Linked DNA regions of Homo sapiens: regions 1 and 3 are each linked to region 2. The links are contacts of gene promoters, found by promoter capture Hi-C in blood cells and fetal thymus (Javierre and others, 2016). All regions are on one chromosome and are shown on one strand. The core of a region is centred on a gene start or on the middle of the fragment in contact, and the rest is flanking DNA. Distances in the headings are between cores, read along the strand shown.

Evidence for each region. The method cuts DNA at HindIII sites, captures the fragments that hold promoters and counts their contacts. A CHiCAGO score of 5 or more calls a contact.
Region 1: the fragment with the promoter of FLT4 here is called in contact with the fragment with the promoter of OR2V1 in region 2 in 2 of 17 cell types (neutrophils and monocytes); the score reaches 5.6 in neutrophils.
Region 3: a fragment that was not itself captured here is called in contact with the fragment with the promoter of OR2V1 in region 2 in 1 of 17 cell types (total B cells); the score reaches 8.9 in total B cells.

The regions. Positions count from the first base shown.
Region 1 is chr5:180,646,840-180,651,339 of GRCh38, reverse strand. It overlaps FLT4 (fms related receptor tyrosine kinase 4), which reads left to right and starts at 1,740. Exons shown (of 30, transcript NM_182925.5): 1 at 1,740-1,852. The coding sequence starts at 1,795. The HindIII fragment of the contact is 6,264 bases long and covers 1-2,932 here.
Region 2 is chr5:181,128,981-181,133,552 of GRCh38, reverse strand. It overlaps OR2V1 (olfactory receptor family 2 subfamily V member 1), which reads left to right and starts at 2,384. Exons shown (of 4, transcript NM_001258283.2): 1 at 2,384-2,503; 2 at 3,338-3,380; 3 at 3,978-4,033. RefSeq lists an enhancer at 3,097-3,598. The HindIII fragment of the contact is 15,941 bases long and covers 1-4,572 here.
Region 3 is chr5:180,782,042-180,786,650 of GRCh38, reverse strand. It overlaps MGAT1 (alpha-1,3-mannosyl-glycoprotein 2-beta-N-acetylglucosaminyltransferase), which reads left to right. Exons shown (of 2, transcript NM_002406.4): 2 at 1-1,871. Among named protein-coding and RNA genes, the nearest start is that of MGAT1, 18 kb to the left of the region's middle. RefSeq lists enhancers at 1-704, 705-1,616. The HindIII fragment of the contact is 1,243 bases long and covers 1,920-3,162 here.

The sequences.
Region 1 (4,500 bases), core at 491-2,990, 480 kb after region 2:
CTGGGCGGGGCACAGTGGCTCATGCCTATAATCCCAGCACTTTGGGAGGCTGAGGTTGGCAGATCAGGAAGTCAGGAGTTTGAGACCAGCCTGGTCAACATGGTTAAACCCCCATCTCTACTAAAAATACAAAAATTAGCCGGGCATGGTGCCGGGTGCCTGGAATCACAGCTACTCAGGAGGCTGAGGCGGGAGAATTGCTTGACCCCAGGAGGCAGAGGTTGCATTGCAGTGCAGTGAGATCGTCCCACTGCACTCCAGCCTGGGCAACAAAAGAGAGACTTTGAGAAAAAAAAAAAAAAGTACATTCTGAAAAAAAAAGCAAAACATATATTTTGATGATAAAATGATAAACAAAAGCAGGGAAATGATAATGCCAGGGTAGTGGGCATCTTCTGGGGTTGGTGAGGGGTTTGTGATGGGAAGTGAGGGGATGTGGGGATGTCATTCTACATCCCTTGGCCTGGAGAATGGAAACACAGGTATTTGTTGCTTTAAAATTCAGGTTTATAATATGCTGATATATTATGTACTTTCCATAAGTGTGTTACATCTCATAATCTTTCAAAGCTAAAAAAAATCAATATATGATTGATAAATACCTAACTTCATGTATCGCTTGGTTACCTAGTTTCCCCAACCTTATTTGTTAAATTATCTACACTATCCGCACTGATTTGTGATTCCAGCTTAATAATATAGCCACTTCTTACCTGGATTGGAGAGAGCTGGTAGTGGTTATTGAAAATCTACTCTTGCTTTTTGGCGAGGATGAAAGGGCTTTGGGGGGCGGGGGTGGGGGGATGGAAAATGTGAATGAAACGAAAAGCAGGGAAGGAGGTTGAGACAGTCATGGTCATGGGCTTCATTATTAAACAGGAAAATTCTAGAGACAAACTGAAAAGAGAACGGAAGTCTGTAAGAGGGTTGCCAAGTCAGAAAGCAAAAGCAAAGTGTCGCTTTATTAAAAAGGTGGGGGCGGGTCCTGATTGAGCTGAGAACAAAACATCTGGGGGAGTTCTAAAGCTAGGAGGCCAGGCCTGCAGGGAGGGGGTCGGTCATCCCGGGTGTCCCGCTCACGGGTGCGGCTTCCGTCGACACTGTCCGTCGACACTGTGCAGGTAAACACTGCTGAACGGGTTTTGTTTTTGCTTTTTTTTTTTTTTTTTTGGCTCCCAGACTGGAGTGCAGTGGCGCGATCTCGGCTCACTGCAACCTCCTTCTCCCGGGTTCAAGCGATTCTCCTGCCTCAGCCCCCCCGAGAAGCTGGGATTACAGGCGCGCACAACCAAGCTCGGCGTATTATTTTATTTATTTGCTTGTTTATTTTTGAGACTGGGTCTCCCTATGTTACGCCGGCTGGTGCCACTATTTTCAAAGATGTAACATACTATTTTTACAAGGATTGCTTTCTTGTTTAGTCTAGATTTTACCGATGGAAAGAAAGGACGGAAAAGAGCGCGTGCCGCATTTTGCTCCCCTTTGCCCACCAGGCTCCATCACCTCCGGAGCGCATCGCGAGACCGTCTGCGTTACCCGCGTCCCCGCGCCCGGAGCCGCCCAGGAGGGGGCCCGGACCCTGTGGTGCGGAGCGCGCACTGCTCGGGTGCACCGGACGCCCCGCGGCGGGCTGGGAGGGACGGGGGGAGGGGGGCGCGGGGAGCGGCCTGAATCCCGGGCCCGCCTCCGGCCCCCGCCCCGCCCCGCCCCGCCCCAGGCCAGCCGGCGCCCGCGCGGACACTTTCAGCCCCGAGCCGCGGCCGCTCGGGTCGGACCCACGCGCAGCGGCCGGAGATGCAGCGGGGCGCCGCGCTGTGCCTGCGACTGTGGCTCTGCCTGGGACTCCTGGACGGTGAGCGCGGCGAACGGGCCACCCGCCCGAGCGTGGGGCTGGCCGGGGAGGGGGTACCGCGCACCTGGGGCGGGCGCTGAGACCGCTCCGCCGGGTACGGGCGGGGGACACGGTGGCCCTGGTGCGCGGACGCCTGAGGGGAGCACGGCGCTTGGGGCGCGGGACCTCGGGATGAGGAAGGGGCGGGCGGGGACCGCAGCCGGGTCAGGGCCAGGGCGGCCGGGCCGCGCCTCGGCGCAGGGGTAGCTCTCCCGGCCCCTGAATCCGCGTCTCCGTCGGTGGCTCCGCGTCCTCGGAGCCGGGCCCTGCCGGGCTGCGCGCTGAGCCCGGATCCTTCGCGCCCTTACTCGCTTCCCCGCGGGGTCCCCGCGCCGCGCCGTCCCGACCCACGCGCGCCGGAGATCCATCCCGGCCGGGCCCCGGACTTGGGTGCGCACTTCCCGACGCCCAGCGCCTCCGCTCGCGGTCGGTCCCCCAGAGGGCGCTCGAGGCGGGCTTCCCCCTCCCCGTGGCCGGCGACGGCGGGGACAGGGGCCGGGGACCACCGCGCGCCCGAGGCGGACGGGTGCAGGTGCACGCTGGCACTTGAGACGAATCTTGAGGAGGCGAATCGCGGGCTGTCAGCGCCGCAGAAGGGGCGGAAGGCCAGGGGTCCCCGGATTTGAGGGGACAGGGGCCTCGAAGGCCAGCTGAGGAGCAGAGGCCCCCGCGGGAGGGTCCCCTGCACAGGAGAGGCGGGGTTCGGTTTGTGTTGGGATGTGGCTCTGGCGGGGAGAGACGCAGACCTGAAGCGGAGGCGGAGGGGTTGGAAAGAGGGACTGTGGGGGATGAGCGGGCGGCAGAGGGAGTGGATGGAGATGTCAGGGAGGAAGCTGAGAAGATGAGCTGGGAGTCCCCACGGAGCTGGTGTCCCTGGAAATCAAAGGGTGTAAGGGCGGGGTCAGGGGTTCCAGTGTCTGAAGCCCTGAAGTCAGCGACGGGGACCTCAACATTTCTGCACGCCATAGGAATTAAATACTGGCTTTACATGCTTGTAATTCTCACAGGGAGTGTCAGACCCATTTTACACATGGAGAAGCTTAGACCAAGGACATGTGTCACTTCCCCAAGGTCCCCAGGAGGCCCAAAGTAAGCCTGACAAAGCCTGCCTTTGCTCACCACCTGTATGTCCACTGGCTGAAGGGCAGAGGACAGGAGAGGGGGCAGGTCTGGCTCAACCAGGGGAGGAGGGAGGAGAACATCTATCTGGGCCTCCGAGTCGGGCAGGCCAGATCAGGGCGCTGCCCTTGGCCCTCCTGGACCCAGCCCAGGACCAGGCTCCCACAGGTGCTCAGGATGTATTTGTCGAGTGGCTGGTAGACCTTGGTTGGACTGCAGGGCTGTAGAATGGGAGACGCTTATCCTGGAGGAGACATGGGACAGGCACCTGGGCGCAGTGTCTGAGCTGGGCTGAGTAGCTGGAGAGGAAGAGAGAGACCCGGGAGGGGAACCCTGGAGGAGGGGCCCAGAGGGCAAGGGGGCTTCCAGGGATCCAGGGAACATTCTGCAGGTATAAGGAGAACCAGGAGAGGCCAGTGTCCTGGTGCTCCCGGGTGGAGCACAGAGGGACGTGGGGTGAAGGGTGAGGAAGCTATTCCCTGCAGTAAGTAGTGACTCTTAGTGACCCAGTTATGAAGAGGAGAGAGGGCATTAGTTGGGCGCCCCATGGAGAGGGGTGTCCTGGGCTGGACCTGGGTTTGGCTGGTGGGGAGATGGCAATGAAGACAGAGGTCATCCCTCCGTGAGCCCTGCACCTTGCTGTACCCCCTGCTAGGCTGAAGACCCCGGGAGCCCCCAGCTTGATGGGGGATGCCATGGCGGAAGCACAAGCCCTCAGCTGCAGTCGGGTGTCAGGGCAGCTGGTCCGGTGGGAGCTGCAGTCGGGTGTCAGGGCAGCTGGTCCGGTGGGAGCAGGCCAGAAGCCTGAGCATCCTGAAGCTGACCCCTTAAAAGTGTGCTATTGATCATAGAACCAGACTCTTGTCCTGCCTCTGCCGTAAAGTCCTTTCTGTGTGACCTGGGCCCCCTCCTTTCCCCTCCCTGCACCTCAGTTTCCCCAAGCATAGCCATGGCACAAGCATAGCCATGGCACAAGCATAGCCATGGCACAAGCTGGCAAGCCCCGAGGTTGTGTGGGTTGTGTGTGCTTGGGCTGGACTCCAAGACCCAGATGCCTGCTGCAGTTCCACAGTCTTGCCCCAGTGGAGAGGGTAGGTCACAGATGTCTCTTGGGGCTTAGTCTAGAGAGAGGCCATTGGCACCTCTGCACTGTGGCTACCAGCTCAGGGACATGCAGGAGCAGGGTCTGCTGGGCATCTGGAGTGGCCTGGTCTCAGGACGTTTGCCCTTGCTGTGACCTGGGTCACAAAGGCCCAGATGTGGACAGATGTGTGGCCCAGGGATGCAAGTCACTGCAGGCAGGATGTGGGGATCAGGCCCACTTTACTTGGGCCTGGGGACCTTCTGCTCCAGCTCAGGGCTCTGAGGACTCGAATGCAGGTGCTGTTCCCTCATCCACCAGGCCTATGGCACAGAGCCAGTGTGGCTGAAGGAGTCCTGAGCCCTCCCAGAGCATAGGGCCCACATGGCTGGGCCCAGACAGGGTACGA
Region 2 (4,572 bases), core at 1,135-3,634:
GAAGTCCAATTATAAAATAAAGCACACTTACAGATGTGTAGTTTTAGCGAGGAGTGGCGGCTCTTGCCTGTAATCCCAGCACTTTGGGAGGCTGAGGAGGGTGACTGCTTGAAGCCAGAAGTTTGAGACCAGCCTGGGCAACATAGCAAGACTCATCTCTACAAAAAATTAAAGAATCACCCGGGTGTGGTGGCATGCTCCTGGGGTCCTAGCTGCTCAGGGGCTGAGGCAGGAGGATCTCTGGAGCTCAGGAGAGTGCCCTTGCCTCAGGAGTTGGAGGCTGCAGTGAGCCATGTTGGCACTGCTGCACTCCAGCCTGGGCCACAGAGCAAGACCCTGTCTCTTAAAAGAAAAAAAAAACCTAGTTTCTGTCTCTGTCTCGTACACACATTTCTTCCCTCCTGCTATGTGGAACCGTATTTATTAGTTTGCAATTATCCTTTTATAGTTGATTTTGAAAATGTAAAAAACAACCTTGTCCATAGATTTCCTCCTTTCTCACGGCAGAAGCAGCAGGCTGTGTTCTGTTCTGCACCATGCTTTTTCCCTCCTTACCTCCTGAAGATCCCTCCAGTGTAGAAGAAGAAACACTTGATGTTCTTTTTACAGTCGTACGGCACTCTGTTATGTGGATACATTACAGTTTACTCAACCAGTGTGGAGTGACCTTCCAGGTTCTTGTTATAGAGCATTTTAGACACACCTAAAACCTGGAAGCATCGTATAATGAACTTCTCTGCACTCACCACCCGGTGCTGGCAATTGGCAGCTCAGGGTCAACACCGTTCCGTCTACTCCCCACCCACCTCTCCCTCTCCCCTTCACAACTGGATTATCTACAAATAAGTTTCAGAAATCACATAGTTTCCTCAGTAAATACATCAGTAAGTTTCTCTAAAATATCAAGAATAAAACATAATAATAGGATGAGCATTTAAGAAGAATTCTTAACAGAGAAACATCAATAATGACATTTCCTGGACATTTATGTGACAGCTGCTGCTTTCATTTTAGTACAAAAATTAGGGGAGGTTGAAAATTTGAATGTCCTAGACAATAATTTTTTTTTTTGAGACAGGGTCTGGCTCTGTTGCCCAGGCTGAAGTGCAGGGGTGTGATCTCAGCTCACTGCAGCCCTGACCTCATGGGCTTAAATGATCCTCCCACCTCAGCCTCCAGAGTAGCTGGGACCACAGACACGCACCACCGTGCCAGATTAAACATTTTTAAATTAAGATACTCATGTAAAAGACAGTGCTTCTATTTATGCAGGGCAGTTCTCCAAATAAATCAGTTCAGACATCCTAGTAACTTATTTGAGAAAAACGGACATTTCAAAGAGTATCCCCACCTCCCTTAAAATCTGAAAGGACACATAATATGATTGCTGTTAGCAGACTCTTCTCCCTTCTCTACTGTGGGACTCCAAGCCCCAAGTTAGTCTTGATTTAGGCTGTGTCAAGGGGACCAACACTGAATTGAATGTGAGATTCAAATTTTGATTTTCAATGGACTGGATTTTAGAATATATAAATGAGCCTTCGTCTTACCACCCAAAGTCACCAGAAAACTCTTGATCTGCATGAGATGTCATGAAGATGTGGAGAATGAATTGTGATGTCTTATTTAAAAGCAGTGGCTGTACAAAAATAAAAGTGTTTCCTTGTTTGCACATGATCAAAAGTTCCCCCTGAATAATACGATAAAAGGCAATACAAGAGCTGTCAGCAGGCCATGGACATACGCTGCCAGAGTGTAGACAGGAAGCCATGGCCGGCGGAGGTCATGGTGGATTGAGTTCCGGAGGAATCTGAATGGAGGTGGGCTTGAGCTCGGTCTTGGGGAATTAGATAAGGCTGAAGAGTAACAGAGGAAGAAGACAGAGGAAGTGCCGGTGGGGAGAAGTGGCTGGAGAAAAAGTGTGAGTGTGGAAAGCGTTGGGTGCATAGGAGGATAGAGGAGAAGGCCGGTGTGGGAGAGGAGTGGGAGACGCTGCAGGTCCAGTCCTCAAAAGCCAGCCTGCCCCACTCCAGCTGCGAGGTGGCCATTCCCTTCCTCCCTAGTCTACCTCTCTCTGCCCCGGTCTTCCTGTGTCTCCCTCATGGCCTCCTCGCCTGCATGTTCCTCAGACTCCTGCCATAGCTGGAAGCTGGATCAGGAAGAGGGCACACACCAAAAGTGTGGTAGCAAAGACACACAAGGAAGTCGAGATTCAGAAGGAACAAACGCCTCTGGTGTCTGAGCCATGTGGCAAGGGGATTTCAAGCACATTGGCCCCTGAGAAAATGGCCTGCTTCCATGGGACATAAATAGCCACAGAGTGACCATAAAATGCATCCTCCGATGTGAAATGCTCTTGAGAGTAAAAGGCAGTGGCAGCATCAGAACCGTGGACTTCAGCCCCATCCCCAGCAGCCCACGAAGACACTGACCCTGCAGAAACGCCTGTCAGGTTTATGAGGATCCCAACCAGGCCCCCAGGCTCCACCCGACTCTCGTGAAGGTGGGGCTGTTCTTTCCCTCCCACGAGGCTGTAGACCCCTTGAGCAAGGACTGTGTCCAGAGCCCCCCACCCAGTGCTTTGCATGTCACGGGTGATGTAGGCTGACTTAATGGGGGCAGGTGAAGGACAGGTGTGGGGTGCAGCGAGGGCCCAAGGGACAGCTGTGACATGGAGACCCCATGAGGGCCCTGGAGGTCGCTGGGAAGTGCTGATGTGTGTGTGGGGGGGCAATGTAGGGCACCAAGAATGTCCTCCGCATTCCTGTATTCCTCTGCCCTGCGTTCCTCCTCCCCCAGCTGGGTTTCCTCACGCTGTCCCCACTGGCCCTGCTCCTGTTCCTGTCCCCAGGTCCCTCTGTGGGTCTTTTTAATTGTAATCTTGGGAGCACCTCTTCCAGGGCTGGAGTCTGTGGGGTCCCCTGGGAGCTGAGGTCTGAAGTCAGCTTCCCCTCTTCACCCCGTGTCTGGGTTCAGTACCTGTGTGGGCAGTGGGAGGCGGTTCTGCCACCTGGCCAGAGCCAGGGTGTCCTGGAGGCAGGTGGGAATCCTGGGTGGGCTCAGGGCACTGCTCCTGGCTCCACCTCTCCTGCCAGCACCAGCTCCTTCCCTGAGCCTGTTTCTCCCTCTGAGAGGAGGCTGTGGTCTGTGTGAGCCTTGCTCTCTGAGCCTGAGGGGCCACTGGAGGCTGAGGGTGCCGTGGGCTCCACAACCCGATGAGTAGTCGGTGCGGGCTGAGGAAGGAGGTTGGGGCTGCGGCTCCTCCTGTCCCCCGACCCAGTGGGAGCAAACACAGGAGGATGAGTGCATGGCTCTGACGCTAGGAACTCCTCCACAGGTGACTCTGCTGAGTTTGTTCCCCTGCAGGGACCCACCCACAGGTGAGTGAGGGTCTTGTCCTGTCGTCCCCTCTCTCTTCCCTGCAGCTCCTGCTCCCATTGCTGGTTCACGTCCCCATTTATCTTGTTCATCAGCACTTGCTCTTCCTCCTGCTGTCTGCCTCCATCAGGGTGTAACTGTTTCGTGTGGGTGTTTGGAGGGGCATCCGTCTTCTGGTGTGATGTTTCTCCTCACTCTTTCTTCTCGTTCTCTTCCTTTGACCCACCTCTCTCTCTTTCCTTGGTGTCCTACTCCCCTTTTCCCGTCCCCCTCCCTCTGTCTGGGTTGGAGACTGGGCTCTAGGTCCCTGGGGTGGAGGATGGTCCACAGCAGGAAGACAAGGACAGATGTGTGGGGAGTGCGAAGGTGAAGGAGCAGGAAGGAGGGGGCTGATGTGGGACGGGGTCCTCCCGTGCCGGGGAGAATATTGCAGAGATGCAGTGGCTTCTTCTATGTTGTGGTTTCTAGGAAGAAAAGTGAAGCCATTAACTAAACACCCAACGGAAAGGTCTGAAATTAGAGAGCAGGAAGATAAGCCAGTGAGAGGCAAGAATAAATTCTGTTGTGTTTCATAATACAATTTTTTTTTTCTGAGACAGGATCTTGCCGTCTGTGTCCTGAGAGGCACAAGTGGCTGGTGCCTCTGAACATGGTGGTAAGGCTGGGAGACCGTTCTTCTGCTGGGGCATCTGGTGTATTTTGCTGGTTGATATGGCTGAGAGGGTGCTTGGTCGCTGTGGGAACAGATTTGCTCCTGTAGAAACCCCCTCCAAATCACACAATGTCATAGCTCTATCATTCAGGCTGGAGTGCAGTGGTGTGATCGTAGCTCACTGCAGCCTCAAATTCCTAGGCTCAAGTGATCTGCCTCAGTCTTCCAAGTAACTGGAACTACAGGTGCACACCACCACGCCCAGGTAATGTTTTATTTTATTTTTATTTTGGAGACAAAGCTCGCTCTGTCACCCAGGCTGGAGTGCAGTGGCGTGAACATAGATCACTGCCAGCTTGAACTTTCAGGCTCAAACGATCCTTCCACCTCAGCCACCTGAGTAGCTGGGACTACAGATGTGTGCCACAATAGCCTGGCTAATTTTCTCTGTTTTTTGAATAGAGATGAGGTCTCGTTTATGTTGCCCAGGCTGGTCTCAAACTCCTACCTCGAGCTATCCTTCTGCCTCAGCCTTTCAAAGT
Region 3 (4,609 bases), core at 1,292-3,791, 350 kb after region 2:
GGAAGAAGGAGGAAGGAAGAAGGTAAAGGGTGGATGGCAGCTGCCTCCTCCTCTCTTGGAAGCTCACAGAGCGCTGGGTCACAATTCCCTGGGTAGAACTGGATCACACAGGCACCCCTGTCAGCAAAAGAGGCTGGAAAAAGTATTTCTGAAGCTGAATCAAATTAAGATTCCTGTTACTAAGAAGGGAGTGATTGTATGGGCGACTACAGGGACCACGGCCATACACGGTGCCTGGAAGACCAAGCTTGTGACAGTGACGAGGATTTGGAGAGGGCAGGGTGATGGGGAGCTTTGGGGGGAGTGCATTAGGAACCCTGACCTGGAGAGGGGCAGAATGAAACCTGCGGGCCCCTAACCCTAGTGGGTTGTTTGAGAAACCTGTCCTACTGTGGCAGGGGGCTGAGTCTTCTCAGGGTCATGCATGAAAACTGAAATTCCTGAAGGCCACACACAGCCCCGGAAGTGCTGACTGACAAGGGCACATGCCAGTGATGCAGTTTTCTTTTTTGTCTTCACTTTTGTTGTTCCGCCGTCTTCAACACATGGCTCCCAGCTCACAGCAAATGCTGCCCTGGTTCAGCTACCAGGAAGCAGGAGAGGGGAAGGGAGGGCAAGCCTCATTCTTTATGGAACAAAAGCAGTGGGCAGACAGCCTTCCCTCACGTTCCACTCACTGGAATGTGGTCTGGCTGCCTTCCCTGCAGGAGGTGGGATGCACCCTCAGTGCAGCAGCCCTGCCCCAGCCAAAAACGTCTCAGCACAGCTGTAAGAAGAGGAAGATGGCTAGAGACAGGCAGCCTTCCCTGCAAGGGCAATGAGGCAAGCCTGCCAAAAGCCTCCTTTGGAAATACTGTTTGATTACTTTTCAGAGTTTCTATTTAGGAAAAGGGCAAAACCTTTCAGGATCAGGAGTAGGTGAGCGGCGATCAGGCCTCACTCTTCACCGAGGGCCTTCCCTGAGGAGGGGCCTGCAGGACGCTGGCAGCGGAATGGGGCTGTGTGGCTGCTAGATTAGGTCATGGCAGGGAGACAGCCTCTTCCTGGTTCTTGCTAGAACAGGCACACTTGGGGCCTTGAGCTCCAGGGAGTTCATGGAAGACATCTGACTACCCTGAGCCCCTTGCTGGAGGGTTCTGGGGAGTGGCCCACGGCCACCGTCACCCATGGCCACCGTCACCCACAGGGGCCGTGAGGACATCCCTGGCCAGCATCTAACACAACCACATGGGATGCCCTAAGCAACTACTGCCCAGCCGAGGGCTGCCTGAATTTCTGACTCACAAATGGTGGGCAATGTGAAACGGGTATTTTAAGCTGCTGAGTTCTGCGGGAGTTTGCTGAGCAACAGTAGAAACCAGAACTCTCGGATACTGTGTTCTGTCCTTGAAACGGTGGAAGATTTTATGTGACCAGAATGGAATGTTTGAACAAATATTTTGAGAATAGAATTTTAAAACATTTACTCATCAGCATCCAAGGGTGGGGAGCAGTGTCATCTAGGAGACTGGTTCTATTATTTACGTAGATGTTCTTGAATTAAAGGATGGGAATATTTTTTCCTTCCAAAACTTTTTTTCAATTTTATATTCTGTTTTTCAAGTTTTTATTATGAAAATATTCAAACTCACAGGGAAGTTGAAAGACTAATACAAAGAAGAACCATACTCTTTCCACTGACATGATCCAACGAGGAATATTTTGCCACACGGCAAATATATACCGTATAATTTTCTGTACCACTTGATAGAAAGGTAAAGAATGAATATTGTTTTTTAAATAACTTTTTTCGTATATAAGTAATATGTGCTTATCGTGTAACTACCTAAAAACATTGAAAAATAAAAGGAAAATAAAATTCATACATAACCGCCCTGCCCAGATTAACTATCTTTGGTTCTTGGCTTGCTGAGCAAGCTTCTGACCTGAACTTGGTCTTCATTGGGCACGGCTGCCCTCTACTGACAGCTGGGAGTCCTCGGCCTCCTTATGAATGAATCAAGCCAGTTGGTTCTGAAACTGCAGAACAGAGCCTGATGGCCTCATACCTGGGTTTTTAAAAATCAAAATCTGGCCGGGTGCGGTGGCTCTCGCCTGTAATCCCAGCACTTTGGGAGGCTGAGGTGGGTGGATCACGAGGTCAGGAGATCGAGACCATCCTGGCTAACACGGTGAAACCCCGTCTCTACTAAAAATACAAAAAATTAGCTGGTCGTGGTGAAGGGCGCCTGTAGTCCCAGCTACTCGGGGGGCTGAGGCAGGAGAATGGGTGAACCCGGGAGGCGGAGCTTGCAGTGAGCCGAGATCACACCGCTGCACTCCAGCCTGGGAGACAGTGCGAGACTCCTCTCAAAAAAAAAAAATCAAAATCTTGGGTGAGGCCTCACCTGAAATATCAAGTGTGACTTCCCTGTCCTTGTCATATTGCTCCCTTGAATTGGAGCCTGCCCTGATGCCCGCCTGGCTCCAGGCCAAGCCCTAGCAGTTCTCCACCCCAGTTAGACAGCATGCAGCTGTGGTTCCAACGCCCCTCCCTCAGCTGAACCGATGCCCCTGATTCTCCCTAAATTCTCCTTTGTCCTTCAGTTCATCTTTCTTGTCCTTTTGCTCCAATCACATAGTGTGAGGGAAGACTCTCCTGAAACCATGTTTTCCCTCCGCTCTCACACTGCAACAATCATCTACACAGAAGAAGACTTCTGTGACCAAACGTGTGGGGACCTCTCCCCACTCCCAAGCGGTGGACGTCAGCCAGGTGTCCTCCAATCAGTTCCAACCCTGTCTACCTGGAGATAGTGCCAGATCCCACAGGTTGAGGGCTCCATCCCCAAGACTCATCCTTGCCCCACCCCACCAATCGAATGTTGGGGCCTCCAGAACTTCTGACCAACTGGGTTCAAGTTGGGGTTCCCACAACCCCCTCTTTGAGTTTGATTAATCTGGGGGAGTTGCTCACAGAGAATCAGTTTACTAAGAAGGATATTTTAAAGGATATGGATAATTAGCCAGACGAAGAGGTACATAGGGTGAGGCCTGGAAGCACAGGAGCTTCTGTTGCCGTGGAGCTGGGGTGCCCCACCCTCCCGGCATGTGGACGAGTTCTTCACCCTCCTGTCGGCCTCCACGTGTTCGGCCCAGTCCCCTTGGTTTTTTATGGAAGCTTCATGACTTTAGCATTCCTTCCCCCAGGGTATAGGATGGGACCCTCTCATGGGAGGGCCTTGAGTCCTGCCTCAGGGCAGTGGAAGGTCAGAGTCCTGCCCCTGAGGCCTGACTCACCCAACACTGTAACAAAAGACTGTAACAAGGGCTGTGGGAATTATGAGCCAGGAACCCTGGGTTGAAAACCAATACATAAACCAATATACGTACACATATTGTGAAGAGAAAATACAACTTGGGACCTCAAAATCACTAAGCCGAAGGGACAGATCAAGCTGGGAACTGTGTCACACAAACCTGCCTTCCATTCACAAATAAAAAAGCTACATGCCTCCCTCACAATTTGCCCTTGTGGGCAAGATCTTTACCCTAAAAGTGTTCTGTTGAATTCCACCCTGACAATGTAAATTGATAGTCTATCTTCGCAGTGATGGGACAAAGGAAAGAACTCAGCCATTTCTTTGCTCACCTGAGACAAATGCATATGTGATTGCTTCCTCTGCCCTACTTTATCTTATGTGAAAGTGCAGATTCACCCCAGCTAGCTGACTATTCCTTTGCCTCCCTTACATGTGGACGGCTGATCAAAGGCTCAAAAGAAGGCAACCACTTGCCTTTTATCTACCCACACCTTTTAAAAATGTCTTCCTCTTTCTGCAATACCTGCCCTTTTTCCTTTAAATATTGAAGCCCTCAAAATCATCTTTGGAGAAAGGCACAGACTTGGGTCCTGGGTGCATGTCCTTAACATTGGCAAAATAAACTTCTAAATTGACTGAGCTCTGTCTCAGATACTGTTTGGTTTACATGGTAACCATGAAGGGATTCTGAGTGGAGCTACCCCTGACCTTTGGCAAATCTCCTACGGGTACTTGGTGCCAGCTTGAGCTACCTTTATTGCTCAAATCAGTTGGACAATTTGCTGAGCCCTGGGAGCTCCTGTCTCCAGAGAATCCCTGATCTTCCAAAATCTGGTTGAGGTTTAAGGATTATTCTGCTGTGAAACTCTTTTTCTGGAGTTTTATTCACTTTCAACAAGGAGGGAGAGTTTTCCTGCTTCCATGATAATGGGGTGCAGGCAACTCCTTTGTGGAATTTCAGCCCACTTCCAACAGGGAAAGCAAGTTTGAGTTTTTTCCTACTTCTAGGATAGTAGTGTAGCAGGACCAGCCGCAGACAAAACTCCTCAGACACCGAGTTAAAGAAGGAAGGGGTTTATTCAGCCAGGAGCATTGGCAAGACTCCTGTCTGAAGAGCTGAGCTCCCCTAGTGAGCAATTCTTGTCCCTTTTAAGGGCTCACAACTCTAAGGGGGTCCACGTGAGAGGGTCGTGATCGATTGTGCAACCAGCGGGTACACGACTGGGGGCTGCATGCACCGGTAATCAGATTGGAACAGAACAGGACAAGGGTTTTCACAGTGCTTTTCCATACAATGTCTGGAATCT